7 separate regions of the Homo sapiens genome follow, and all the other regions are linked to region 4. The links are contacts of gene promoters, found by promoter capture Hi-C in blood cells and fetal thymus (Javierre and others, 2016). All regions are on one chromosome and are shown on one strand. The core of a region is centred on a gene start or on the middle of the fragment in contact, and the rest is flanking DNA. Distances in the headings are between cores, read along the strand shown. Region 1 overlaps CENPC (centromere protein C). Region 2 overlaps STAP1 (signal transducing adaptor family member 1). Region 3 overlaps UBA6 (ubiquitin like modifier activating enzyme 6). Region 4 holds the start of YTHDC1 (YTH N6-methyladenosine RNA binding protein C1). Region 5 has its middle 55 kb from the start of UGT2B11. Region 6 overlaps CENPC (centromere protein C). Region 7 overlaps STAP1 (signal transducing adaptor family member 1).

Evidence for each region. The method cuts DNA at HindIII sites, captures the fragments that hold promoters and counts their contacts. A CHiCAGO score of 5 or more calls a contact.
Region 1: a fragment that was not itself captured here is called in contact with the fragment with the promoter of YTHDC1 in region 4 in 1 of 17 cell types (naive CD8 T cells); the score reaches 5.2 in naive CD8 T cells.
Region 2: a contact is called between a fragment that was not itself captured here and the fragment with the promoter of YTHDC1 in region 4, in 2 of 17 cell types (activated CD4 T cells and total B cells). The highest score is 5.7, in activated CD4 T cells.
Region 3: a fragment that was not itself captured here is called in contact with the fragment with the promoter of YTHDC1 in region 4 in 1 of 17 cell types (total CD8 T cells); the score reaches 5.2 in total CD8 T cells.
Region 5: a fragment that was not itself captured here is called in contact with the fragment with the promoter of YTHDC1 in region 4 in 1 of 17 cell types (megakaryocytes); the score reaches 6.4 in megakaryocytes.
Region 6: a fragment that was not itself captured here is called in contact with the fragment with the promoter of YTHDC1 in region 4 in 6 of 17 cell types (total CD8 T cells, monocytes, naive CD8 T cells and 3 more); the score reaches 6.7 in total CD8 T cells.
Region 7: a fragment that was not itself captured here is called in contact with the fragment with the promoter of YTHDC1 in region 4 in 1 of 17 cell types (fetal thymus); the score reaches 6.9 in fetal thymus.

Annotation. Positions count from the first base shown.
Region 1 is chr4:67,483,507-67,487,040 of GRCh38, reverse strand. The region is part of intron 17 of CENPC (centromere protein C); the gene reads left to right. Among named protein-coding and RNA genes, the nearest start is that of CENPC, 60 kb to the left of the region's middle. The HindIII fragment of the contact is 2,381 bases long and covers 859-3,239 here.
Region 2 is chr4:67,566,648-67,569,960 of GRCh38, reverse strand. All of the region lies in intron 1 of STAP1 (signal transducing adaptor family member 1), which reads right to left. Among named protein-coding and RNA genes, the nearest start is that of STAP1, 9.6 kb to the right of the region's middle. The HindIII fragment of the contact is 1,909 bases long and covers 380-2,288 here.
Region 3 is chr4:67,610,441-67,614,150 of GRCh38, reverse strand. UBA6 (ubiquitin like modifier activating enzyme 6) reads left to right here. Exons shown (of 33, transcript NM_018227.6): 33 at 1-1,499. Among named protein-coding and RNA genes, the nearest start is that of STAP1, 54 kb to the right of the region's middle. The HindIII fragment of the contact is 4,333 bases long and covers 1-3,710 here.
Region 4 is chr4:68,348,756-68,352,149 of GRCh38, reverse strand. YTHDC1 (YTH N6-methyladenosine RNA binding protein C1) reads left to right here and starts at 2,060. Exons shown (of 17, transcript NM_001031732.4): 1 at 2,060-2,424. The coding sequence starts at 2,397. RefSeq lists an enhancer at 2,112-2,691. The HindIII fragment of the contact is 7,711 bases long and covers 1-3,394 here.
Region 5 is chr4:69,157,485-69,161,226 of GRCh38, reverse strand. No RefSeq gene overlaps it. Among named protein-coding and RNA genes, the nearest start is that of UGT2B11, 55 kb to the left of the region's middle. The HindIII fragment of the contact is 166 bases long and covers 1,989-2,154 here.
Region 6 is chr4:67,499,021-67,502,727 of GRCh38, reverse strand. All of the region lies in intron 12 of CENPC (centromere protein C), which reads left to right. Among named protein-coding and RNA genes, the nearest start is that of CENPC, 45 kb to the left of the region's middle. The HindIII fragment of the contact is 2,878 bases long and covers 46-2,923 here.
Region 7 is chr4:67,591,068-67,594,712 of GRCh38, reverse strand. STAP1 (signal transducing adaptor family member 1) reads right to left here. Exons shown (of 9, transcript NM_012108.4): 8 at 1,357-1,453. Among named protein-coding and RNA genes, the nearest start is that of STAP1, 34 kb to the right of the region's middle. The HindIII fragment of the contact is 3,093 bases long and covers 1-2,874 here.

The DNA.
Region 1 (3,534 bases), core at 800-3,299, 870 kb after region 4:
GAAAAATACAACACTATCCAAGAAGTAGTCTTGCCAACCCCATGCCTTAAAAAAGAAAAAAAAAAAAAAAAACCTAAAAGCAAATACAAAACCTGAATCTGATCAAGTCTCTAGATTTAACTACCAGTTTACAAGAAATAAAGTGTGGTGAAATCTTTCAAATGATACCTGGGGATGTAGTCAGCAAAATCCACCTGCATGAAGATTTTTATGACAAACTGCTTAATGTTTTCAATAAATTAAATGTAAGAAATAAAAAAGAACCAGGTGAAACCTAGGGAATCAGGGTTTCTCAACCATGGCACTAGTAACATTTTTGATTAGATACTTCTTTGTTGTAGTGGGGGCCGTCCTGTAGGTAAGGCCCTGTAAGTAGAAGCTTACCTGGCCTCTACTCATTAGATTCCAGTAGCACCACTGTAGTTGTGACAAAATCAAATATGTCTTCAGAAATTGTCCGTTGTCCCTGAGAGGCAAAATCACCTTGATTGAGAACCGCTAATATTGATTGAGAAATTTAAGAAACAGATCAACCAATCACTGTATGTGGTGCTAACCTGGATCCTGATTCAAAGAAATCCTTGAAGATATGTTTAACTGATGATTGGAAATTTGACTATTAACTAGATATTTGGTATTAAATATTTATTTTTTAGGTGTGATAACAGTATTGCGGTTATGTTTTTTAGAAGCACTTGATCTTTCAGTACATACTGAAATATTTGCAGATGAATTATGATACTGGGCATTTATTTTGAAATAAGATGGAGTGAGGATAGTAGACTCTGGCTTGGGCAGGTGGTTAGCATTAAGTATTCATGAGAGTTCATCATTCTATTTTTGTATGTTTCAAAAGCTTTCTTAATTAAATGTTTACAGAAATGAGGAGAGGTGTGCTTAGAGAACCAAATTGAATAGATGAGAAAAAAACACTAGAAATATATACTTTTTAGTATTACTTTTTTGTCTTTTTGATTAAGGCAAATTATTTTTGGATGTAATAACTTTTTTTGTCTTATTAAGTTATAAAAATACCTTTGAAACATTTCGGGGGGCTTTTTTCCCCATTTAGGGAGGCAGTATATCACAGTGATTAGGGAATGAATTCTGTAATCTAAATGCCTGAGTTCAAACTCCCCCCCTTTGCCATTTACATTGTGACCTTGGAAAATTACTTAACCTCTCTGTGCCTCAGTTTCTTCATCCATAAAAAGCTACTAAAGTAGTCGCTGTCTCATTAGTGGGCATATACATTAAGTGAATAAGAATAAAGTTCTCATAATACTGCTTGGTATAGAGTAAGTGCTATATAAGTGCTAGCTGTTATTGTTATTCTGGTATATTATGATCATTGTACAAAGTAGTAATAAAAAATAAGGAGGAGAAATAATTATCTGAGGCAAAACATTCTTGATGGATGTCTTAGTCAGATTGGGCTGCTATAATAAGAATACCATAGACTTTGATCTGTGTCTCTTATAAGGGCACTAGTCCCATTCCTGAAGGCTCTGCACTCAGGACCTAATTACGTCCCAAATTCCCCACCTCCTGATCCCATCACATTGGGGGGGTTAAGATTCCAGAGTGTGAATTTTCAGGAGACAAACTAATTTCTAACAATGGCTGAATCTCAAAGTTTGAAGGCCTTATGCTGTTTATTTTAGTTGCTCAAAAAACCAGGTCACTGCCAGTGTGTGCTACCTATGTATAAAGTATGAAATTTGGCATGTTTGAATATGAAAGCCAGCATGATTGAGAGATTTATCCTCTTTTACTTTCTTAGTCTTGATGCTTGTTTAACATATGATTTTGAGGGGAATAGGGATTTAGCTTTTTGCTTTCTTTGATTCTTCAATCAGATTGAGTAGTTTGTTGTCCTAAGCATGTGACCTTTAAAGAGGCATACATAAAGCCTAGGTATTTTTTTAGTGTAGGTGATAATCTTTTTGAGTTGGAGTCTCGCTCTGTCACCCAGGCTGGAGTGCAGTGGCGTGACCTCAGCTCACTGCAAGCTCCACCTCCCAGGTTCACGCCATTCTCCTGCCTCAGCCTCCCGAGTAACTGGGACTATAGGTGCCCGCCACCACGCCTGGCTAATTTTTTGTATTTTTCATAGAGATGGGGTTTCACTGTGTTAGCCAGGATGGTCTCGATCTCCTGACCTCGTGATCCGCCCACCTAGGCCTCCCAAAGTGCTGGGATTACAGGCGTGAGCCACTGCGCCCAGTGCGGTGATAATCTTTATAGTGTAGGTGATAATCTTTACAGTGGCTGTAGAATTTTCATAAGCCAGTAAGTAATAAGGAAAAACAAAATAAGGAAAAATAAAAGAAATCTCTTCCTGTATTACAATGGTCCCCATCCTTTTTGGCACCAAGGACTGGTTTGTGAAAGACAATTTTTCTTCCACAAAAATTGGTGGTGGCAGTGGGAGTTGGCATTAGATTTTCATAAGGAGCACACAACCTAGATTTCTCACATGCACATTTCACAATAGGGTTCATGTGCCTGAGAGAATCTAATGCTGCTGCTGATCTAACAGGAGGCAGAGCTCAGGCAGTAACACTCACTGGCGTGCTGCTTACCTCCTGCTGTGTGAGCCCATTCCTAACAGGCCACTGCCAGTAGCGGTCCCTGTCCTGGGGGTTGGGGACATCTGTATTAGTTTTCAGTTGCTGCTCTAACAAATTACAGCTATGTGTTACTGAGAAATGAGTCATTAAGCTATTTTGTCTTATGAACGTCATAAGATGATATAGCCTACTACGAACCTAGGCTATATAGGATGATACCCTGTTGCTTCTGTACTTCAAACCTGTACAGCGTGTTTCTGTGCTGAATACTGTAGACAGTTGTATTTGTGTATCTAAATGTAGAAAAAGTACAATAAAAATGTGGCATAAAAGATAAATGTTACCCTTATAGGGCACTTACCATGAATGGAGCTTTCAGGACTGGAAGTGGTCCTGGATGAGTCAGTGAGTAAGTGCTGAGTAAATGTGAAGACCTAGGACATTACTGTACACTACTGTAGACTTTATAAATACTGTAGACTTAGGCCACACTAAATTCATAAACAGAATTTTTCTTTCTTCAGTAATAAACCTCATCTAACTGTAACATTTTCACTTTATATCCTTTTGTTGTTGTTGTTAACTTTTGGACTCTTTTGTAATACTTAAAATTCAACCATACTGTTTGGCTGTACAAAAATATTTTATTTCCTTATTCTATAAGCTTTTTTCTATTTTTTTTTTAACTTTTAAAACTTTTTTGTTAAAAAGTAAGACACAAACAGCACATCAGCCTTGGGCTACACAAGATTAGGATCATTATCACTGTCTTGCACTACCACATCTTGTCCCACTGTAAGGTCTTTGGGAATAGTAACACACATGGAGCTGTCATCTCCTATAATAACATTGGTTTCTTCTGGAATACTTACTGAGGGACCTGCCTGAGACTGTTTCACAGTTAACTTTTTTTTTTTTTATATAAGTGGTAAGAGTACACTCTAAGGTAATGGATAAAAGT
Region 2 (3,313 bases), core at 85-2,584, 780 kb after region 4:
CCAGGAGTTCCAGACCAGCCTGAACAACATGGCAAAACCCCATCTCTACCTAAAAATACAAAAATTAGCCAGGCATTGTGACGTGCACCTGTAATCCCAACTACTCAGGGGGCTGTAGCAGAAGAATCACCTGAACCCAGGAGGCAGAGGTTGCAATGAGCCAAGATCATGCAACTGCACTCCAGCCTGGGCGACAGAGCGAGATTCCATCTCACACACACACACACAAAATGGAATAAGATATGAAGGTGGAAGATAATGATATTGATAATCTTGACCCTGCGTAGGCCTAGGCTAATGTATGTGTGTCTTAGTTTTAAACAAAAAGCTTAAAAAGTAAAAAAAAATAAAATAAAGAATTTTAAAAATAGAAAAAGCTTATAGAATAAGGATATAAAGAAATAAAATATTTTTGCAGAGCTGTACAATGTGTTTTTGTTTTAAGGTAATGTTATTACAAAAGAGTCAAAAATTAAACAAGTTTATAATGTAAAATAGTTACAGTAAGCTAAGATGAATTTGTTAATGAAAAAGAAAAACATTTTTTATAAACTTAGTGTAGCCTGAGTGTACAGTGTTCATAAAGTCTACAGTAGTATCTGATGATATTCTAGGCCTTCAGATTTACTTACCACTCACTGACTTACCCAGAGAAACTACCAGTCCTGCAAGCTCCATTTGTGGTAAGTGCCCTATACAGGTATACCATTTTTTCTTTTATACCATATTTCTACTCTGCTTTTGCTATGTTTAGATATGTTTAGATAAACAAATACTTATCATTGTGTTACAATTGCCTACAGTATTTAATACAATAACATGCTATACAGGTTTGTAGCCAAGAAGCAATAGGCTATATCATATAGCCTAGGTGTGTAATAGGCTATACCATCTATGGTTGCATAAGTATACTCCGTGATGTTCACACAATGATGAAATCACCTAACAATGCATTTCTGAGAATATATCCCCATTGTTAAGTGACTCATCACTGTAATTTGATTTGTGTTTAAGTAGTTCATTTTCTAAAACTTTCCTCATTGATTTAAGACTTTTTATGCAATTTCAGTGGAAGCCTACGCATGTCAGATGGACCAGTGAAGGGCCCAGCATAGGAAAAGCATATAATATCTACCTTCTAGGACAGATGAAATAATTTAATGAATTAATACATGTAAAGCACTTAGCAGAGTACATGGCTCATAGCTGGGGTTCAGTAAATAGTATATATTATTGACAGATCAAGAAAATGTGAGAAATTGATAATTGAACACCATCAAAGCTGAACTTTAAAATCCAAATCTTATTGATGTGGTGAATATTTAATTATTAATACATTCATATTACTCTAGATTCTACAGAAATATGACTTTTGAAGTTTAAAATATTTAAATAACCTAGTTAAACTCCCATTTCATTCAATTAAGTTTATTTAAATAAATATGAAGAGTGACTATATTACAAAAGAATGGCAAGTAAGTTTTAAAAATAAAATCCTTTCACATCTAAAGATTTACTTTCATATGCAGCTTTTCCCAAAAGTGTGTTTTAAAAAAATTCCTGTTATTTTAATAAACATGTTAATCATTCCTTCCTTTATGGTTTGATAAGCTGATGTTTTACAACTTATTGAACCATCATGATATTGGCGATTAATATAAGAAAGTTATATAAAGGGTTTTCTCTTTTATTGTGCATGTGAAGATACTTTGTCTTATGGTATTTTGTGTCTCTTCAATATTAACATATCCTTTATGTTTTTTAACCAGTAAAATGTTTGTCGACTCTTCAGAATTTATATGCTTATTTTCTCAAATAATGACGACTCTATAACTCAATTTTGCTTTTAATTCCCTGGCTACCAGGAAGCTCAAGATTAAATTCATTTTGAACTACAATCACCATTTTTTTCTTATGCTCTTGGTAGAACTCTTTTCTTTCTTTGTCTTCATGCCTAATAAGATAATATATGAGTTAGCTTCTCCCATGTAACAAGTCACCCTATAACTTAGTGGACTAAAATAAGCAAATGATTTCTATTTCTCACCATTCTATGGTTGGCTGACGGCCTTTCTGATCTGGGCTTGCTTGGCTATGGCTGAATGGTCTAAGGTGGCCTCACTTACTTGTCTAGGGTCTTAGCTGGGAAGGCAGGAATGACTGGGAAGGGAGGGACAACTGGAGTCTCACTCTATCCATTCTTTTATCCAGTCAGCTAGCCTAGACTTGACACATGCTGGCAGAAGGATTACCAGGAACAAGAGAGAGCAAAACCCAATGGGCAAGCTTATTCTAAGACTTTGCTTGTGTCACATTTACCAACACATGTCACATAACCCAATCCAGATTCAAAGGCTAGAAAATTATTGTTTGCTGTAAGTTCAATTTTGAAACATAAAATAAAGATTAGAGAAATAGATTCAGCCTCTTTATAGGATGAGCAGAAAAGTCATATTTCAAAGAGAGGTACATACAGTAAGACTTGAACAAATTGGTAGTGTGACTGCAGCAATCAACCTCAGGGGCACATTGGAATTTGGGACAAGGTATCTTTGTTCAAGCCCTGCTGTGTTTTCACTCTATCCTCCCCCCAGTTGAGAACTGGTTATAACATGCAATGAACCTGCTGATGCCTCTTGAACCAAGGAACAAATTACCATAGAAAAGAACAATTCAAAAGGGCATATTATTGAAGGATCAGCCAATAAATGGTCCTCAAAGAAGTAGTTATAAAACTAGGCAAAGAGATTCTCTTTCTTGTCTGAAATCCAGATGCCCAATATATACCTGATACGTCTCAGTCAAGCAGTTTAATGACAAGAAAACACATCTTAATTTCAACCCCATCCAAAGTCTTTTCTTTCCTTCTTTTTATATAGGATGTAAAGTGTTATTGCTATAACAGTATCCCTTTACCTGTCTTTCTACCACTTTCTTATACTTTCTAATCTATTAATCTACTCTATTTTTATTTTATTTTATTTTTTGATGGAAGTCTCACTCACTCTGTGGCCCAGGCTAGAGTGCAGTGACGTGATCTTGGCTCACTGCAACCTGCTCCCCTCTGGGTTCAAGAAATTCTCCTGCCTCAGCCTCCCCAGTAGCTAGGACTACAGGCATGTTCCATCATTCCCAGCTAATTTTTATATTTTTAGTAGAGACGGAGTTTCACCATGTTGGGCAGGCTGGTCTCTAACACCTGACATCAAGTGATCTGCCCATTTCAACCTCCCAAAGTGCGGGGATTACAGGCATGAGCTACCGTGTCCAACCTACTTTCGAATCTATTCTGCTCAGTACTGCCAGGGTGAAT
Region 3 (3,710 bases), core at 457-2,956, 740 kb after region 4:
CAATAGGAAGGAAATATTCAGGTTAAATAAGAGATTGTGGAGAACAAGTTTTATTGTGCAGAGGAAACTCTCAGCAGACTTCAAAGAGAGCAGGTTGTAAAGTGTTTCTTATTGGACCTAAAAGGATGCCTGGGTCTTAGTTGATTATCTCCTGGATTTGGAAAGGAAGGAAGGACAAAAAAAAAATGGGTAAAGGGGAAAGGGGATTCTTTATAGAATGTAGATTTTTCCCACAAGGGATGGCTTTGCAGGGCCATTTCAAGATATGGCAGAGAAACATATTTCGGGGTAAAATATTTTGATTTTCTTTCTTGTTATGCCAGAGTCAGATTGGAAAGTTAAGTCACAATATACAGGGTTAAATAAAACCCATCTGATGAGAATTTATGGTTTGTAGAGCATGACTCCCCAGACTCCTTAGACAGGAATTTGGGCAAGATAACAAAATATCAGAGCTTAGTCCTTACATCTCTTTCTAAACATTTTTTCCCTTTTTTCTATCCCTGTGCTAGTATACCATCATCATCATCATTGTAGCTGATATATTCTTGATATCTGGCCAAACAAATCCTCCCAACTTATTGTTCTTTTAGAGTATCTTGGTTATTCTCAGCCCCTTGTATTTTCAGTTCTCATATTTCTAATTGAAAGCATGTAAATTTGTCACTCCTGCAGTTTCTAATTGTCTTGCTGAAATTTTCAATTTCTTATCTGCTTCAAAATGAAAAGCATAATTATTTTCTAGTCTGTCTAATAATTCCAGAATCAAAACCCGCCTGTGGGTCTGTTTTTATTTTGTTTGTTCTAGTCTTCATTCTTACTGTCTTGTCTCCTTGTGTGCCTGGTTACCTTTAATTATTTACCAATATTGTTTGAAAAAACTAGAAATAACTTGATGCTCAGAATGATATTTTTATCCTCCACAGAGTTTTTTGCTTCTGGCAGGTACCTGCATTAGTAATTTAGGATTATTTTGATCCAGTTTCAGATACTGAAATTTTCCAGGTCACCTAGGTGACTGAAAGCTGAGCCACAGACTGTGGTAATGCTCTTCTGTTCATCCTTATTTCTAGGGTTCAACCATTCAGGGTTTCAAAGCATGGTTTGGAGTTACCAGGCCCTTACCTCTTCACTGACCCTGGACTCTTTTTGAATCTTTAGCCCCTTAGCTCTATCTACTCAACTTCCCAGTGGCCTTTTGCAATCTATAAATACTCCTAACACAGTGGTCCCAAATGAATGGTTCATTTTTCTGAATTTCTATCTTTTCTCAGATATTATTGGCATGGTAATTATTCACCAACTTATCAGCTCCCTGCTGCCTTCCTACATCTTTGAAAAGTATATTTTATCCAGCTTTTCTAAATGTTTTCAAGTGAGAATGTTAATCCAAATTACTTAGCCCACATTATTTCCTGTTGATTATGTGTAAAATACAGTTGGTTTATTTGTATTGTTTTTGTACCTGGAAACAATAAACTCTGTAGTGATTCTCTAAACTATTTGCACATTTTTTTAAATTTTCTTTTTTTTTGTTTTGTTTTTTTGAGACAGAGTCTCGTCGTGTCACTGAGGCTGGTGCAGTGGCATAATCTCAGCTCACTGCAACCTCCACCTCCTGGGTTCAAGCAATTCTCCTGCCTCAGCCTCCCAAGTAGCTGGGACTACAGGCGCCCACCACAACACTCGGCTAATTTTTGTAGTTTTAGTAGAGACGGGGTTGCACTACGTTGGCCAGGCTGGTTTTGAACTCCTGACCTCATGATCCGCCCACCTCGGCCTCCCAAAGTACTGGGATTATAGGCGTGAGCCACTGCACCCGGCCCATTTCTTAAAATTTTCTACATAACTTTAACTCCAAACAAAAATAGTTTAATCTTTTCTAAGATCCAAATTTTGGTTTTGTTGATCCTTTCTATAGTATGTTTGTTTCCTATTCCATTAATTTCTGCCTTTATCAATATTATTCTATTTTATTAGGGATTTTTTCACTATTCTGTTTCTAACTTGTTGAGATGGGTTACTTCTTTCATTTTTAACTTGTCCTCCTTTTCAACATACACATTTAAAAGTTATCTCTATACTATTGTAATATAGTCACATTTACTCAACTATTATAGTCATATTCCACAAATTTTGATATATAATGGTCATATTTAGTTAAAATATTTTCCTAATTTTCATTGGAATTTTCTCTTTAATCCTTTTTTAGGAGAGTGTTTCTTTTTTTCCAAACATGGGCTTTTCTAATTATGTTTTTTGATTTGCAGTTTAATTGAATTTTTGTCATAAAAAAATCTGATTTTAATTATTTGAAATTACTTGAGACTTGCTTTATGGCCAAGAATATGATAAATTTTTAAACAATGTTTATGCATTTGAAACCAGTATATTCTGTAGTAATTAGGGAGAGTGGGAAGGGGAAAAGTCTCTTCTCCATATCTTCAGCATTCTAGTCTCCTAGTACTCGTTATTTGTGGGATCTAAAAACAAGCCATCTAATGTATCTTTTAGGGTTGTTAATTGTGTTATTTAAATCTATATCCTTACTGATTTTTAATATACGTATTATGTCAATTACTGAAAGAAGTATGTTAAAAAATCACCCAATATGATCTTGATTTGCCTCTTTCTCCTTGTATATGTTTCTGGTTTATATATTTTGAGAATAATTATTGACTGCATGTAGTTTAACATGTTACATTTTTCTGATGAATTATATCGCTATGCAGTGTATCAGTAATATGTTTTGCCTTAAAGTCTGTTTTCTCTGTAGCTATACTAGCCTTCCTTTAGTCAGTATTTTCACAGAGTAACTTCTTTCATCTATTTAATTTTAATATTTCTGTATCTTTATGTTTTAAATGTGTATCTGGTAAACAAAATAGATTTAGGATTTTAGTGGAGTTTTTTGTTTTGTTTATTTTTAGATCCAGAGGTCCTCTTATGTTGCCCAGGTCAAAGTGCAGTGGCTCAAGTGGTCCTCCTGCCTCAGCTCCCTAAGTACCTGGGACTACAGACGTGCACCACCGCACCTGGCCGTTATTATTTTTAATCTAATAGAATAATCTTTGTCTTAAACTGGAACACTTGTGCCATTTACATTTAATATAATTACCAATATATTTAGATTTGTTTCTGCCATTTTAGTTTGTTCTGGGAGAGTTTAGGGTTTTTGTTTTTGGGGTTTTTTTGGTCTAACCTATTTTGTGATTCTTTTTCTGTTTTCTTGCCTTTTAAAATTAGTATTGACTTACTATATTATTCTGTTTTTGCCAGTTATTGATTGTCTCTCAACTCTAGACTCACTTATCTGTATTCTGGGACTTTGTGCCTAGCACTTTTTGCAAACTGTGCTTCTCCTTTGCCATCTGGCTTGTTTTTAGGTCCTGCAAAGAAAGAGTACTAAGAGACTAGAATGCTGAAGATATGGAGAAGAGACTTTCCCCTTCCCATTAGCCTCCCAATATTGTCAGTATCACCTCAGCAATGGCTCTTGTTTTAGCAGCTGTGGTTTGTTTCCAGACTCCAACTTTTCTCTGGCATTCTGGAGGGTATCTCTTAAAGGCTTCTAGGCTCTATTAATCCCATCTTTTTGCCTTTATTTGTGTCCCTAGTGGACATTTTCACTTTTCTCAAAACCTGTTTACTAATTCCTTGTTAAATTCTTTCTTAAAATAAATGATGTTTGTTTTCCTTGAGCAATACAC
Region 4 (3,394 bases), core at 811-3,310:
CATGAGACATCAATCACCAGCTTGACTTCTTCCTTTGGCTTAGTGATGTTGGGGAGATTTTCCTTTCACATATGTATCGCCCAGCTTCAACAATTGTTAACTCATGGGTAGACTTGTTTAATCTATTCTCCTACCCATTTCGCTACACCTGCCACCAGTTTGATAAATCCCAGATACCATATAATTTCATTTGCAAATATTTATTACTATTCTTATTATTATTTTGAGACAGAGTCTAGCTCTGTTGTCCTGGTTGGGGTGAAAGTGGCACAATCTCAGCTCACTGCAACCTCCGCCTCCCGGGTTCAAGCAATTCTGCCTTAGCCTCCCGAGTAGCTGGGACTACAGGCGCATGCCATCATGCCTGGCTAATTTTTGTATTTTTAGCAGAGACGGGGTTTCACCATATTGGTCAGGCTGGTCTCAAACTCCTGACCACAGGTGATCCGCCCGCCTGGGCCTCCCGAAGTGCTGGGATTACAGGTATGAGCCACTGCATCTGGCCTGCAAATATTTTCATATGAATCATGAAATTATAAGAAATTCTTTAAAAAGCAAAACTTATTAAAACTAAAAATACAAATAGCAATTCCTCAGGATCATCAGATATTATTTAATGTGTGTGTGTGTGTGTGTTTGTGGCGTGTGCGTGTTCGTATATTCAAATTAGTGTTCAATTAAGGTCCTAGAAATGGGGCCACTCCTGGTGGCTTCACACCTGTAATCCCGCACTTTGGGAGGCCGAGGTGGGAGGATTGCTGGAGCCCAGGATTTAGACACTAGCCTGGGCAAGATGGCTAGGTGTTAGCCATCTTGCGGAGATGGTATATCTCCACAAAAAATGCAAAAAATGTGTCGGATGTGGTGGAGCATGCCTGTAGTTCCAGCTACCTGGGAGGTTAAGGTGGGAGGATCACTTGAGCCCAAGGTTGCAGTGAGCCATGATCACACCACTGCACTCCAGCCTGTGTCACAGTGAGACCACGTCTCAAAAAAAAAGAGGTACCACATTCTAGACTTCTAGACTACTTGTCTTTCCCTGAATATGCAGTTAGTTTGCCAGTTTGTCTTCATATCACGAAGTTACTTAGTTACCTTTTTCAGATTTTTCTTTCCCTTATAACTCAGTTATAGTTCAAGGAAGCAAAATTAGATTGTTTCCGTTGGACAATGAATCTTAAGCAAGTTTCTCTTGCAGATTTTACCACACTATGTAGTTATGTATCTACTGGTCATTTATTCTGTAGTTTCGATTCCTCGATGGTCTGCTTAAATCAATTTTGTGCCCCAGGGCCTTGATAACATGTTTAAATTAGTTATTAATTACAAAGACCTATTATGATACAATTCTTTCCCCAATTAAAAACAAAACTAGGCCGGGCGTGGTAGCTCACGCCTGTAATCCCAGCACTTCATCCTGGCCAACATGGTGAAATCCCGTCTCTACTAAAAATAAAAAAATTAACTGGGCGTGGTGGCGGGCGCCTGTAGTCCCAGCTACTCAGGAGGCAGAGCCAGGAGAATCGCTTGAACCTGGGAGGCGGAGGTTGCGGTGAGCCGAGATCGCGCTGCTGCACTCCAACCTAGCGACAGAGCGAGACTCCGTCTCAAAACAAACAAAAACTAGCAGGCTTTTGTGACTACAAACAAGCTGGTTGCATGCTGCACTGCCTTTGGGTAAGAGTGGAACTCCAACTAAGAAAGTACATCTGGTAAACATAAGGGATTCACCCAGACTTGTCCTAAATAAGACTCCGATTACCCGAACTGAATCAGGAGTCCTTTAGAGCGACTCTAGCTAAGAAGGCCTGTTAGGCCCTGCACTAAGAGTTTCAGGTGGGAAAATTGCGCCATCCAGTTATAGGCCGTACAGCGGGAACTCCATGAACAACCTGGGTAACCTAATCCCTGAATAAGACTCCTTCCAGGTACCAGTGGGCTGAGGGCGGCAGGGCGACGCGCTGACGTCACGTCACGTTCCTTTGCACGTCCCCGCCTCCCCGCCCCTCTCCGCACTGTGACGTTCCCAGAGAGGAACGAAGCGTAAACAGCGCAGGGCATTTCGGGAGCGGGATTGTTTCGCGCAGGAAGCAGGCTCCATTTTAGCGCCGCCCGCCGTCGCCATCTGTTTCCCTTCCCTCCCCCATACCTAGCCCGAGTCTGAGCCCTAACGAGAAGGCTGGGCCTAGGCCGCTGGATGCTGGAGTGAAAGGAAGGGAGAAAGGGAAAAAGCGGGAAGAGTCGAGAAGGCTGAGTGTTAAGAGGCCAAGTGCGACGCGCGTATCCGGGCAGACGGACTGACGGACGGGCCCGTGCTTCTGCCGCGGCTGCGGCGCCCGCGCGAGTCGCGTCTAAGCGGCGGCGGCGGTGGCAGCGGCGGAAACCGAAGGGGAGCCATGGCGGCTGACAGTCGGGAGGAGAAAGGTTAGTGCGGAGAAAGATGACGGGCCGAGGCGAGGCTGGGGCCCGGGAGTGGGGTGATGGAGCAGTGGTCGTCGTTGGGGGTGGGGGGTGGGGGTTGGGGAGGTTAGCTGGCCTCGCGAGGAGCCGGTGGCCCCCACCGAGACACTTAGACTCTGGCGGAGACCAGGCCTGCCCTTTCGTCCTCAGTCTCCATATGGCCTAGCACTTCATCTCAGTAGGGTTTTTCTTTGATGCGGATTTCACGCTTGACTTTCCGTTTAGCTGTCTTGGGCTGAGAGGGGCCCTTTCTGAGTTGCAAGCTCCTAGGTTTATTTCCTGGTAGGATCATGCGGATGTAACGCGTATTTTCAGGACAACCATTTCTGTTAGGCTAAAATTTGAAAACCCCTAATGCCGCGATCAACACTGGTGGTGTGGTAAGTGAGCAAGTTTAGGAAGTGGCACTGGCAGGTTATTAATCTTGAGAAATATCTGCAAATAACTTCTGGCTGTTCCTGTTAAATAGGCAAAGTGAATTACCCGTTTTGTTCCTCGAATACTTATTTTGGAAAAACATAGTACTTGGAAAAAGGAATACTTAGTTTGGAAAGATGACTGTGTGACTTAGGCTGGCAAAGAAATCCTGGGTGCTATTATGTTAGAAAAACCGTGTGTAGCTCCCAGAGGGTACAGTCAGAAACAAATGAATGCAAGTTACAGAGAGTTGGAGGGATAAATTTCAGTGAAATGTAGAGAGAACTGACGTTGCTGTAATGGAAAGATAGTAATACTAAGTTCCCAAGCCCTAGAGATATTAATGTAGGTCCTAGATCAGTGTCTCTCTGGAGAGTGGTCTAGATTAAATGCTGCTTTAAGATCTTTTTCAACCCTAAGATTAACATAATAGTCTTGGAAAGATTATAGTTAAAAATATGACACGGTCGCTGCTCTGTGTCTCACACATCTCTTCTGTGTGCCTAATTGATTTGGG
Region 5 (3,742 bases), core at 822-3,321, 810 kb before region 4:
CAGCAATTAACACTAAAGAAATACCATCCAGTGTCTTAGTCCATTTGTGCTGCTATAACAAAGTAGAACAGATTGGGTAACATAAAAAAAATAGAAATGTATTTTTCACAATTCTGGAGGCTGAGTAGTGCATGATCAAACCTGCAGCAGGTTTATCATGTAGTGATAGCTCTTTTCTGCTTACAAAAATGGTGCCTTATTTTTGCATCCTCTGAAAAGAAGGAATACTGTGTTCTTACATGGTGTAAGTTAGAAGGGCAAAAAGGCTAAACACTGCATCAAGCTTCCTTTATATGGGCCTTAGTTACATTCACTAGCAAGAAACCTTCATGTCCTAATTACCTCTTTAAGGCCTCACTTCATAACACCATCACATTGGCCATTGTTTCAATATGAAGAGTAGTGTGCATAAAGTTCTTATTTATGTAGATTGGAGTTACTTAACAAAGGCACTTATTTTCTTACAAAAAATCAAGGAGGTGTAAACTCTCTCTGACCCTAATTGTTTTGAGAGATGTGAAAGAAATATTTACTGAAAAGGAATCTGAAAAGCCTACATAGAAGAAAAGTAAATCAATATAATAATAATTATACCAGACACAGAAGGGGTTTACAAGTGATCCTGGAAGTTATGTTTTATCTCTTATTCATGCTTTCCAGGAAAAAAAGCTTATCTTTATCATCAGTTTCTAATGACTATAATCCATTTCCTTTAATTGTTTACTTGCCTACTGATATGGCTTGGATACTTGTCCTCACTTAAATCTTATATTGAATAGCAATTCCCAATGTTAGAGGTGGGGCCTGGTTGGAGGTGTTTGGATCATGGGGGCGGATGCATCATAGCTTGGTGCTGTCCTCACTAGAGTGAGTTTTCATGTAAGATCTTGTTGTTTAAAAGTATGTGACACCTTTCCCCATCCCCAGGTTGACTCTTGCTCCTGCTTTTACCACATGACGTGCCTGCCCCATCCCTCCACTCTTCATTTTCTGCCATGATGGTAGGAGGTCCCGAGACCACCCTAGAAGCCAAGCAGATGCCAGCACCAGGCTTCCTATAAAGACTGCAGAACCATGAGCCAATTAAATTCCATTTCTTTATAAATTACCCTATCCCAGGCATTTATTTCTAGCAATGCAGGAATGGCATAATGCACTTAATTTATTTGTAGTTTAAGTGATATAGGCCTTATATCATGCACTGCCCTAGGGAGAAGAAATGGGCAGTTCTTAGGACTCAGACTGGCTCTGTGGGATTGGGTAAGACATATAATTCTGATCTTTATCAGTAAGGAGAGAGGTATGAAGAGCACATCTATAGGAAAGGTTTTGAAGACTTCCAGAATCTCTGTCAGCCTGATTGAGGAGGCATTTTCCTTCCAAATCAGGTCCATAAATAGTAGAAGAGGTGACTTCTTCCTCAAATACACAGACACCAAAACAAAGATATAAAAAGCATAAAAAATAGGAAAATACGATGCTTCTGATGAAACAAAATAAATATTCAGTAATTAAAAATAAAGAAATTGAGATCTATAAATTATATGGCAAAAAATTCAAAATAATTATCTTAAAAACATCAGTAAGCTACAAATGAACAGCTGAAATAGAAATAAATGAATTCAGGAAAACATTACATGAAGAAAATGAGATATCATTGAGATAGAAACCATAAAAAAAACAAGCAGAAATCCTGGAGCTGAAGAATACAATGCAATAACTGAAATGAAAACATTAAATGAAATTAAATGAAAAATTTAAAATTTCTCTACAGCATTGGTTTTAGTGGTGTCTCTAATACCTGTTTGTACATAAAGTTTTATTGGAACATACCCATGCCCATTCTTTAAAGTATTGTCTGTAGCTGCTTTGCACTACAATGACAGAATATGTGCAGCAGAGTCCATAAGACTTGCAAATCTAAAATATATATTATCTGAGGTTTTACAGGAAAAGTTTCCTGATCTCTGTTTTGCAGTGAAAAAGCTTATTTTTCTTCTAATTTATCTATAAATTTAACACAATATTAATACAAATGTATAGCTAAGTATAATCGTATTAATTGATTAAAGGTTGATTAATACTAATTGTATTAATAATGAGCTAATGAATTCAACTATTTCTATTTAAATTTTATTTAGAGCAAACAAAGCTTTTGGGGGTTATATACATCTCCTGAGCAGTGTACACTGTACCCAATGTGCAGTCTTGTATCCCTCCCTGCTCCTATCCTTTCCCCCAAGTCCACAAAGTCCAATGTATCATATATAAATGAAAAAATGTAAGCTGCTGTATATTTGTAAGAATATTATTCTTAAATATTTTAAAATATCTCCATTAATAACACAGTTGTGTTTATTTGTTTGTTTGTTTTTAATTTTTGTTGGGGTTTTGATTTTGATTTATTGAATTTCTAATGCTGCTGGTATATAAAAATATTTTCAGAATTTGTTTTTCATTTCCCCTTATGTTAGTTAAATATGGTGACAGACAGAATTCCTTCAGGCTAAATAGTAAAGTTAAAGTTATATTCTCTACTTATTTTTACAGATTACAATAAAAAGAATTCTGTCTTGGCCATTACCAAAGTGTTTAGCTGTCTAGTTTGAAATTTCCCTCATAAGATACATACACATACATTTATGCAGCACAGATCTTTTTTTTTTTTCAAATAAAAAACCAAGTTCTGGGAGATTCTGTGTCTTCTATCATGAATTATAATCTTGGCCATAACTTACAGGTACACTCTGAAGTAAAATTTTAAAATAAATCTCAGAAGTTACTTCATAAAAAGCAATTACTTAATACAAAATAAGGCACGTATAATATTTTAAAATATTCTCAAGGGTAAGAGTTCCGCTAGCTATATTGTTTTTAAATCAAGAAATGGAATTGAGGAGATTTTTGACCAATAAATCTTCCTAGGTAAAAAACTGAAATAAAATGCCTGGAGTGAAGCCAACTTGATTATGGTAGATAAACTTTCTGATTTGCTGCTGGATTTGGTTGACTATTATTTTAATGAGGATTTTTGTGTCAATGTTCATCATGGATATTGGCCTGAGGTTTTCTTTTTTTGTTTGTATCTCTGCCAGGTTTTGGTATTAGGATGATGCTGGCCTCAAAGAATGAGATAAAGAGAATTTTCTCTTTTTCAAATTTTTGGGAATAGTCTCAGTAGAAATGGTAGTTAGATCTTCTTGTTGAATTGAATTTTTTACCATTATATATTGTCCTTCTGTTTTTATTTAAATTTGTTTTTCATATCAATAAGTTTTTAGGGAACAGGTAGTGTTTGGTTAAATAAATAAATTCTTTAGTGGTGACTTCTGAGACTTTGGTGCACCCATCAGCAGAGCAATATACACTGTACCCAATGTGTAGTCTTTTCTGCCTTACCCCCCTCCCATCCTTTCCCCCAAGTCTCCAAATCCAATGTACCATTCTTATGTGTTTGCATCCGCATAGCTTAGCTCCCCTTGTGAGTGAGAGTATATGACATTTGGTGTTCCATTCCTGAGTTACTTCACTTAGAATAATAGTCTCTAATTCTATCCAGGTTGCTGCTGTCAATGCCATTATTTCGTTCCTTTTTATGGCTGAATAGTATTCATATCTATATGAAGATATATATATATATTTATACATATAAAAATATAAAGCTCATCCCCCAAATTTTCTGCCACTTTCAAGGCAACCAGCAGCAGTCAGCCATTGGTTGCCAGTCTTCCACAGCAGTCAA
Region 6 (3,707 bases), core at 235-2,734, 850 kb after region 4:
ATTTTGAGGAAAAGAACAGGATGTTAGATTTGGACATACTAAGCTTGATGTTCTCAACCTATGTATTCTTTTTATTTGAGATCTATTAAGGACTGCTAGAGTTGAAGTAAAGTGTTCCCACTGCAACTGTCTTTGCCCTTGTATTTTCTGTAGTCTTTGTTATGTACATTTCAGTGCTGTTACTGATCACATAAGCCTTCATATGGAGTGTACCTGCTTTGGTCAAATTTATCTGCTTCGTTGTGTTAAATGCTTTTTACTTTGTAGTTTGTTTTGTCTAATATTAGTATTGTGACTTCTGCTTTCTTTTGGTTGGTTGTTGTTTCTTTATCTTTTTATTTAACTTTTATTAGAGAATTAAAAGTGGCTAAGAAACAGCATATGATTGAATTGTTTTTGACTCGCTGTGTCAGTACTTTTTCCTTTAATAAATTGTTTAATATATATACACTTATTGTCAACAGATATACTTGTTACTTCTTTGTAAAGTTGGTAGACATTCTCACATATTCTAGCAAGGACTCAGGATTTTTTTTTTCTTTTTAAACACAATGAACCACCAGCTAAATAGAGAACATAATCTTGAGTCATGATCTTTTTTTCTTTAAACTATCACCGTATTGCTATTTTGCTTCATGAGAGTTAATGCTTATGAATAGAAATTTGAAGGCAGCCTTATTTCTTCTTTCCTTTGTAGATAACCTGTTTTCTTCCATCTCCATACTTACTAGGATCCTTTAATCTTTGAAATTTAGGAGTTGTCCCTTGTGTTAGTCACTTAAAAAATAATTTATTTTGAAATAATTTCAGTCTTATACAGAGATCCCATATCCCCTTCATCAAGATTTCACAATTGTCCACATTTTACAACATTTTTCCATCTCCCTCCCTGCCTCCTCTAATAAATACACGTCTATTATCATACATCTTTTTTCTGAACTATTTGAGAGGGAATTGTAGACATGATATATTATTTCCCTTAAATGCCCCATAATGTATTTCAGCAAGACAAGGATATAACTACCCTCGAACCATACAAATAAGGAAATCAGCATTAATACAACACAGGTTCATTCACAGACTCCATTCAGATTTCACTAGCAGTTCCTTTTCCCTTCTAGCTCAGGATCCAGTCCTGGATCTCAGAGTTTCTTCTTCCTCCTGGTTCAAGATCCAGTCCTGGATCGTCGACTGCATTTAGCTGCCATGTCCCTTAGTTTCCTTCAACATGGAACAGTTTCTTAGTTTTTTTCCTAACTTAACTCATGATCAAATGTGTGCCATTCATATTTGACAGGAATACTACAGAAATGATGCTATAGGGTTAGGAGTTAGGGGATGTAATTTGTGCATCACACAGGAGGCACACAACGTTCACCCATCTACATGATGCTTTTGTTTTTTGTTTGTTTGTTTGTTTGAGATGGAGTCTTGCTCTCTCACCCAGGCTGGAGTGCAGTTGTGTGATCTCAGCTCATTGTAACCTCCACCTCCCAGGTTCAAGCAATTCTCATGCCTCAGCCTCCTGAGTAGCTGTGATTACAGGCACATGCTACCATGCTGGGCTAATTTTTGTATTTTTAGTAGAGACAGGCTTTCACCTTGTTGGCCAGGCTGGTCTCAAACTCTGGACCTCAAGTGATCTGCACACCTCAGTCTCCCAAAGCGCTGGGATTACAGGTGTGAGCCACCATGCCCTGCTGACATGATATCAATCCTGATTACCTGTTCATGTTATTGTCTGCCAGGTTTCTCTACTGTAAAGACACTGCTTTTCTCTTATAATTGATAAATATTATTGTGGAGTGATATTCTGATACTCTTAATAGCCTGTTTCTTGTCAAACCTCCATTCACCAACCTTAACATACATTCAAGACTCCCACTTGAATTATCAGCCACTAATGATGGTACCACATTATTTTCTATTTTCTGTTTCTTTAATTCCTTCCGCATTAATTAGTTGCCAGTTTTTCTCCCGCATGCCAATTATTTTATTCATGATTCTTTTTATTTATATCAGTATGGACTACTACTATTTTATGCCATGGGGTTGTAAAATCTTGACCATTTATTATGATACTTGAATTGTGATAGATTTGGTCACTGGATTTTCTTTCAGCTGGTCTCTGTGTGCTTTTGTCATGATTCTGTGAATACTGTCTTTGTTTTTTGGCATAAGATGTTCCAGTCTTTTTCCTGCCCCAGCTCTGGGATCAATTACTGCTCCAGGAAACCTGGTTCTTTTTAGTGGAAGATGGCATTTAGAAACCAAGATTTGGGCACTTGACGTGATCCTTGTTTGGGATACCATTGCTTCTAGTCTTTCTCAGTGTACAGAGATAGGAAATAGATATATATATACACACACACATACACATATGTACACACCATATACAATACAGGCATCTATATCTATTTCTATATTTATATTTATACAGGCATACCTTGTTTTATTGTGCTTTGTGTCACTGCATTTTGGAGATACTGCATTTTTCACAAATTGAAGGTTTGTGGCAACCCTTTGTTGAGTAAGCCTTATTGGCACCATTTTTTTTTTCAATAGCATGTGCTCACCTTGTGTCTCTGTGTCACATTTTGGTAATTTTCACAGTATATCAAACTTTTTCATTACTATGTCTTTTATGGTGATTTGTGATCAGGTGATCTTTGACATTACTATTGTAATTGTTTTGGGGCACCGCAAACCACAGCTACTTAAGAAAGTGAAAATTCATGTGCTCTGACTGCTCTGCTGACTGGCCAGTTCCCCATCTTTCTCCCTCTCTTCAGGCTTCCCTATTTCCTGAGACACAATATTGAAATTAGGCCAATAATAACCCTACGATGGCTTCTAAGTGTTCAAGTAAAAGAAAGAGTCACACATTTTTCACTTTAAATCAAAAGCTAGAAATGATTAAGCTTAGTGAGGAAGGCATGTCAGAAACCGAGATAGTCCAGAAGCTAGGCCTCGGGCACCAAACAGCCAATTTGTGAATGCAAAGGAAAAGTTCTTGAAGGAAAAGAAAAGTGCTACTACAGTGAACACATGAATGATAAGAAAGGGAAACTGCCTTACTGCTGATATAGAGGTTTCAGTGGTCTGGACAGAGGATTAAACAAGCCACAGCATTCCTTTAAGCCAAAGCCTAATCCAGAGGAAGGCCCTAACTCTCTTTAATTCTGTGGAGGCTGAGAGGTGAGGAAGCAGCAGAAGAAAAGTTTGAAGCTAGCAGAGGCTGGTTCATGAGGTTTAAGGAAAGAAGCTGTTTCCATAACATAAAAGAGCAAGGTGAAGCAGCAAGGTCTGATGTTGCAGCAAGTTATCCAGAAAATCTAGCTGAGATAATTGAAGGTGTCTTTACTAAACAACAGATTTTCCCTGTAGACAAAATAGCCTTCTATTGAAAGAAGATGTCATCTAGGACGTTCATAGCTGAGGAGAAGTCAATGCATGACTTCAAAGCTTCCAAGGTCAGGCTGTGACTCTCTTGTTAAGGGCTAATACAGCTGGTGACTTTAAGTTGAAGCTAGTGCTCATTTACCATTCCAGAAATCCTAGAGTCCTTAAGAATTATGCTAAATCTACTTTGCTCTATTAGTAGAACAACAAAGCCTGGGTGACAGCACATCCATGGCAATGCACCAGGCCACCCAGCAGCTCTAATGGACAAAGATGAGGAGATTAATGTTGCTTTCATGCCTACT
Region 7 (3,645 bases), core at 79-2,578, 760 kb after region 4:
ATTCAGGAACCAATAATTTAGATGACAGAGAGTAAAAAACTGAGGGAAGACATTGTAGACATTTTTAAATATTTGATGGCCTTTTAAGTCGTATTGTTTCAAAGCCAGAAATTGGATTAATATGTAGAAGTTGAAGGAATGCTTCAGACTCAATATCAAGGAAGAATTCTCTAATATGAGAACTGTCCAGAAGTGAACTGTGCTGCTTCAAAAATCAAATTTAAGCCCTCTTACATTCACAATTTACAAACAAGCTGAAGGGGTCATATCCTAGAGATGTTTCCTGTACTGAATGTGCAGGTGAGTTCTAAACAGATAAGATACTATAATTTTCTAAAGTTCCTTCAGATCCTGAGAGTCTGTGGTTTTGGTTACTCTTATTATTTAGCATCACAATATTCATAATCATGTTTTAAGAACTTGGACTTTTAAACTTGCTATCCTTTTAATTAATAAGACTATCCAGATATGCCCCAATGCAGATAGCCAAATAAGGTTGCTTTCCCCCATAATCTGTAGAAAAAGAGACTTGTTTTGATAACTAAAATCCACACAAGCTGGAGATATTTTCTCTCTCCTGCTTACAGTTTGCCAGTGACCATGTGTACCAGGAACTGTTGCATAAGATAGAGAGAGACTATTACATTCAGCCTGGCTTGCTCTGCCAGAAGTTGGATTGCAAAGAGAGCCAGTTTCAAGGGTGTGTAAACTGTGCAGTTGCATAGGGTCTCATGCTCGGTTTGATGGTTTGCTATAACTGTTTTTGAAATTCTTAATTTATGAACAAGGGGCTGGCAAATTCTGTAGCTGGTCCTAGCTACAATCTTTATCTGTAATTCCTCACCACCCACTCATTCCTTGTTATTTTGCAATCTGACTTCTGCCTTCATAGTGGAATACAACTTCTCTCTCTCAAGTCATCTATTGGCTAATCACCAGTTTTCATCGTCTCTTCTTAATCTTCATTCATTTTATCCTGTATTACGCATCTAACGTTGTTGACAGACTATCCCTTTAAATTCCATTTGGTTTCCATTAACTTGTATGATTATGGTTTCCTCTTACCTCTGAATTTGTTAGATAAAGCTGAGTAGAATGATAGAATGAAGTTAATAGTAATACTACATACCTCAGGGTTTTCCATTCCCTAAAATGCACCCATACTCTGTTCATAATACATATTGGTACTTTCCTATTTTCACAGACTGAGTGACAAAATGATTTCCAAATGGATAAATTTAAAGACTGAACTACAGTTCCTGCCTGGCTGGTACTATCAATCATATGCAGAGTTTTGGGGATTTTGTTTTGTTTTGTTTTGTTTCCCTTAACATAGCAATGAAGTGAAAAACATACCAGTGTTTTCATCAGTTGAACATATAAATGGTCTTAAATTTCCTCGAGTCTCCTTCACAAAATAATCAATGACACTGAAAAGGTTTGGGAGTGTTACCTGTATTAATAGAGAGTGAGAGAAAACTCAGCATCACCTGCATAAGTATAGAGTAAGAGAAGGCTCAACTGGAATCTAATGGAGATTACTGTCATTACTTCACTTCAATGGCTTACTGTATGACCATAGTTTTACCTATCCCTGTGTCTTATTTATCCTTTTTAATTGACCATGTGTCCATTCTCTGTTGAGGAATTACCACCTTTCCCATTGAATACAATCTGGTAGACAATAGTTAGGTACCTTGCTCTCCCTCAATTAAAGCATAAGAATGTAAGCCAAGTGTGGTGGCTCACACCTGTAATCCCAGCACTTTGGGAAGTCCAGGTGGGAAGATCATTTGAGACCAGGAGTTTCAGACCAGCCTGAGCAACATAGCGAGATCCTGTCTCTACGAAAATTGAAAAAATTAGCTAGGTGTGGTAGCTTACACCTGTAGTGCCAGCTGCTCAGGAGGCTAAGGCAGGAGGATTCCTTGAGTCCAGGAGTTCGAGGCTGCATGAGTTGTGATAGTGCCACTGCACCCCAGCCTGGGTGACAGGGTAAGACCCTGTCCCTTAAAAAATGAGGGGAGCAAAAAATGTGACTCAAGTTAGCTAGAAAATGCTTTCTTTCTGAAATTTGAACTTGAGTAGAAGAACAAAGAAGGATCCAGTTTCCTAATCAGATGGTTCTTAGCACAAGTAACTGCGTCCTAGTCCCTGAAGGTTTGCTACCCTTCCAGTCATTCTATGTTCTTATAATAAATTTATTTTTTCTTAAGTTAGCTGTAGTTGGTTTCTTATGCTTTAAAGCAAATAACCTTTAAAACCAGAGAATTTAAGCATTTTAGTATTTTATTGTAACAGGATAATTTGCCGGTCTAGGAGTAGATAAAATGTGTCTCTACCCCTAAACTAATATTTTTATACAAATGAAATCAGAATAAATATACCAGATAACCTTGAAGAGGAAAAAGAATTCCTGAGCCAGGCGCAGTGGTACACACCTGTGGTTCCCGCTACTCGGGAGGCTGAAGTAGGAGGATCGCTTGAGCCCAGGAGTTTCAGGCTGGCACTATGATTGTGCCTGTGAACAGCCACTGTGCTCAAGCCTGGGCAACACAGCAAGACCCCTGTCTCTAAAAAAAAAAATCACAAAAATACAACCTTACTGAGGGGTTGAGGAGTATGGTTGGGGAGGGTGAAAAATGAAAGAATAATCCAGGCTGTTAGTTTTCCTTACACTGTAGACTGTATGAGCTAATGACAGAAATGAGCCCCAGTTTACCCAGTTACAAAGATGACACATTATTCTTCCTTGTCCATTGCTTGTAGTCACTTAGTTATTTGGATTATCCTTTAGCAATCTAGTTTTCTGCCTTCTTTATTGAATTTTATTTTAAAAGTCTAGTCAGGAATGGATCTGATAACTGAGAAGCTTTGGGAGGCACTTATGGCAAAGATGTAAGTGTGCTCTATGAATCAGCAGCTACCTTGCTCTCTAAGAATTATGACCAAAATATAAAAAATTCAACCACACTGTTCCTTTTTCTACTTGATCAACACAATGGACCTGGAGAAGCAGAGGAACTAGGTAAATATAAATATCTTCAAGACCCACCAGTTCTATTTAAGATATCCAGAGACAACTTTCCTGACTCAATCTTCCCACTACTGCAGCCTAAAATCACAGAGCTATATTCTCTTTTTCAGCATCCTGGAATGTAGGCCACATCACCACATTCTCATTGGTTCAGAACAGTGTAAATACCAATTATCTCACCTGTATAAAAGGCATAACAATATCTACCTCAGGGTAATGATAACAATTACATTGGATGATATATGTCAAGTGCTTAGCTATATCATTAGCCCCATGGTAAGTCAGCTTGGGTGGGAGAAGAGTTCAAGACAAATAAGAAATGCTTTCTTCACTACTATGTTGCTATTAAGAGAGGATTTCTGAACTTCAGCAAGACAGGTATTAGAGGATTAGGCATTTACAGATTTCTTCCCATTAGAAATAAACATATTTGAAGATTTATAATTGGAGAATGTTTAACAAAAGTATCTTTCTTTCTCTGAATTTTTTCCACTTTTCTTTCTCTGCAAACCTTGAGAAATTTGCAGAAAAAGAAAAGTGGAAAGAATTTTTAGAAGCAAATTATATTTTACTCTGCCTCACCACCTGTTCCTGAATCTCACTTTTCA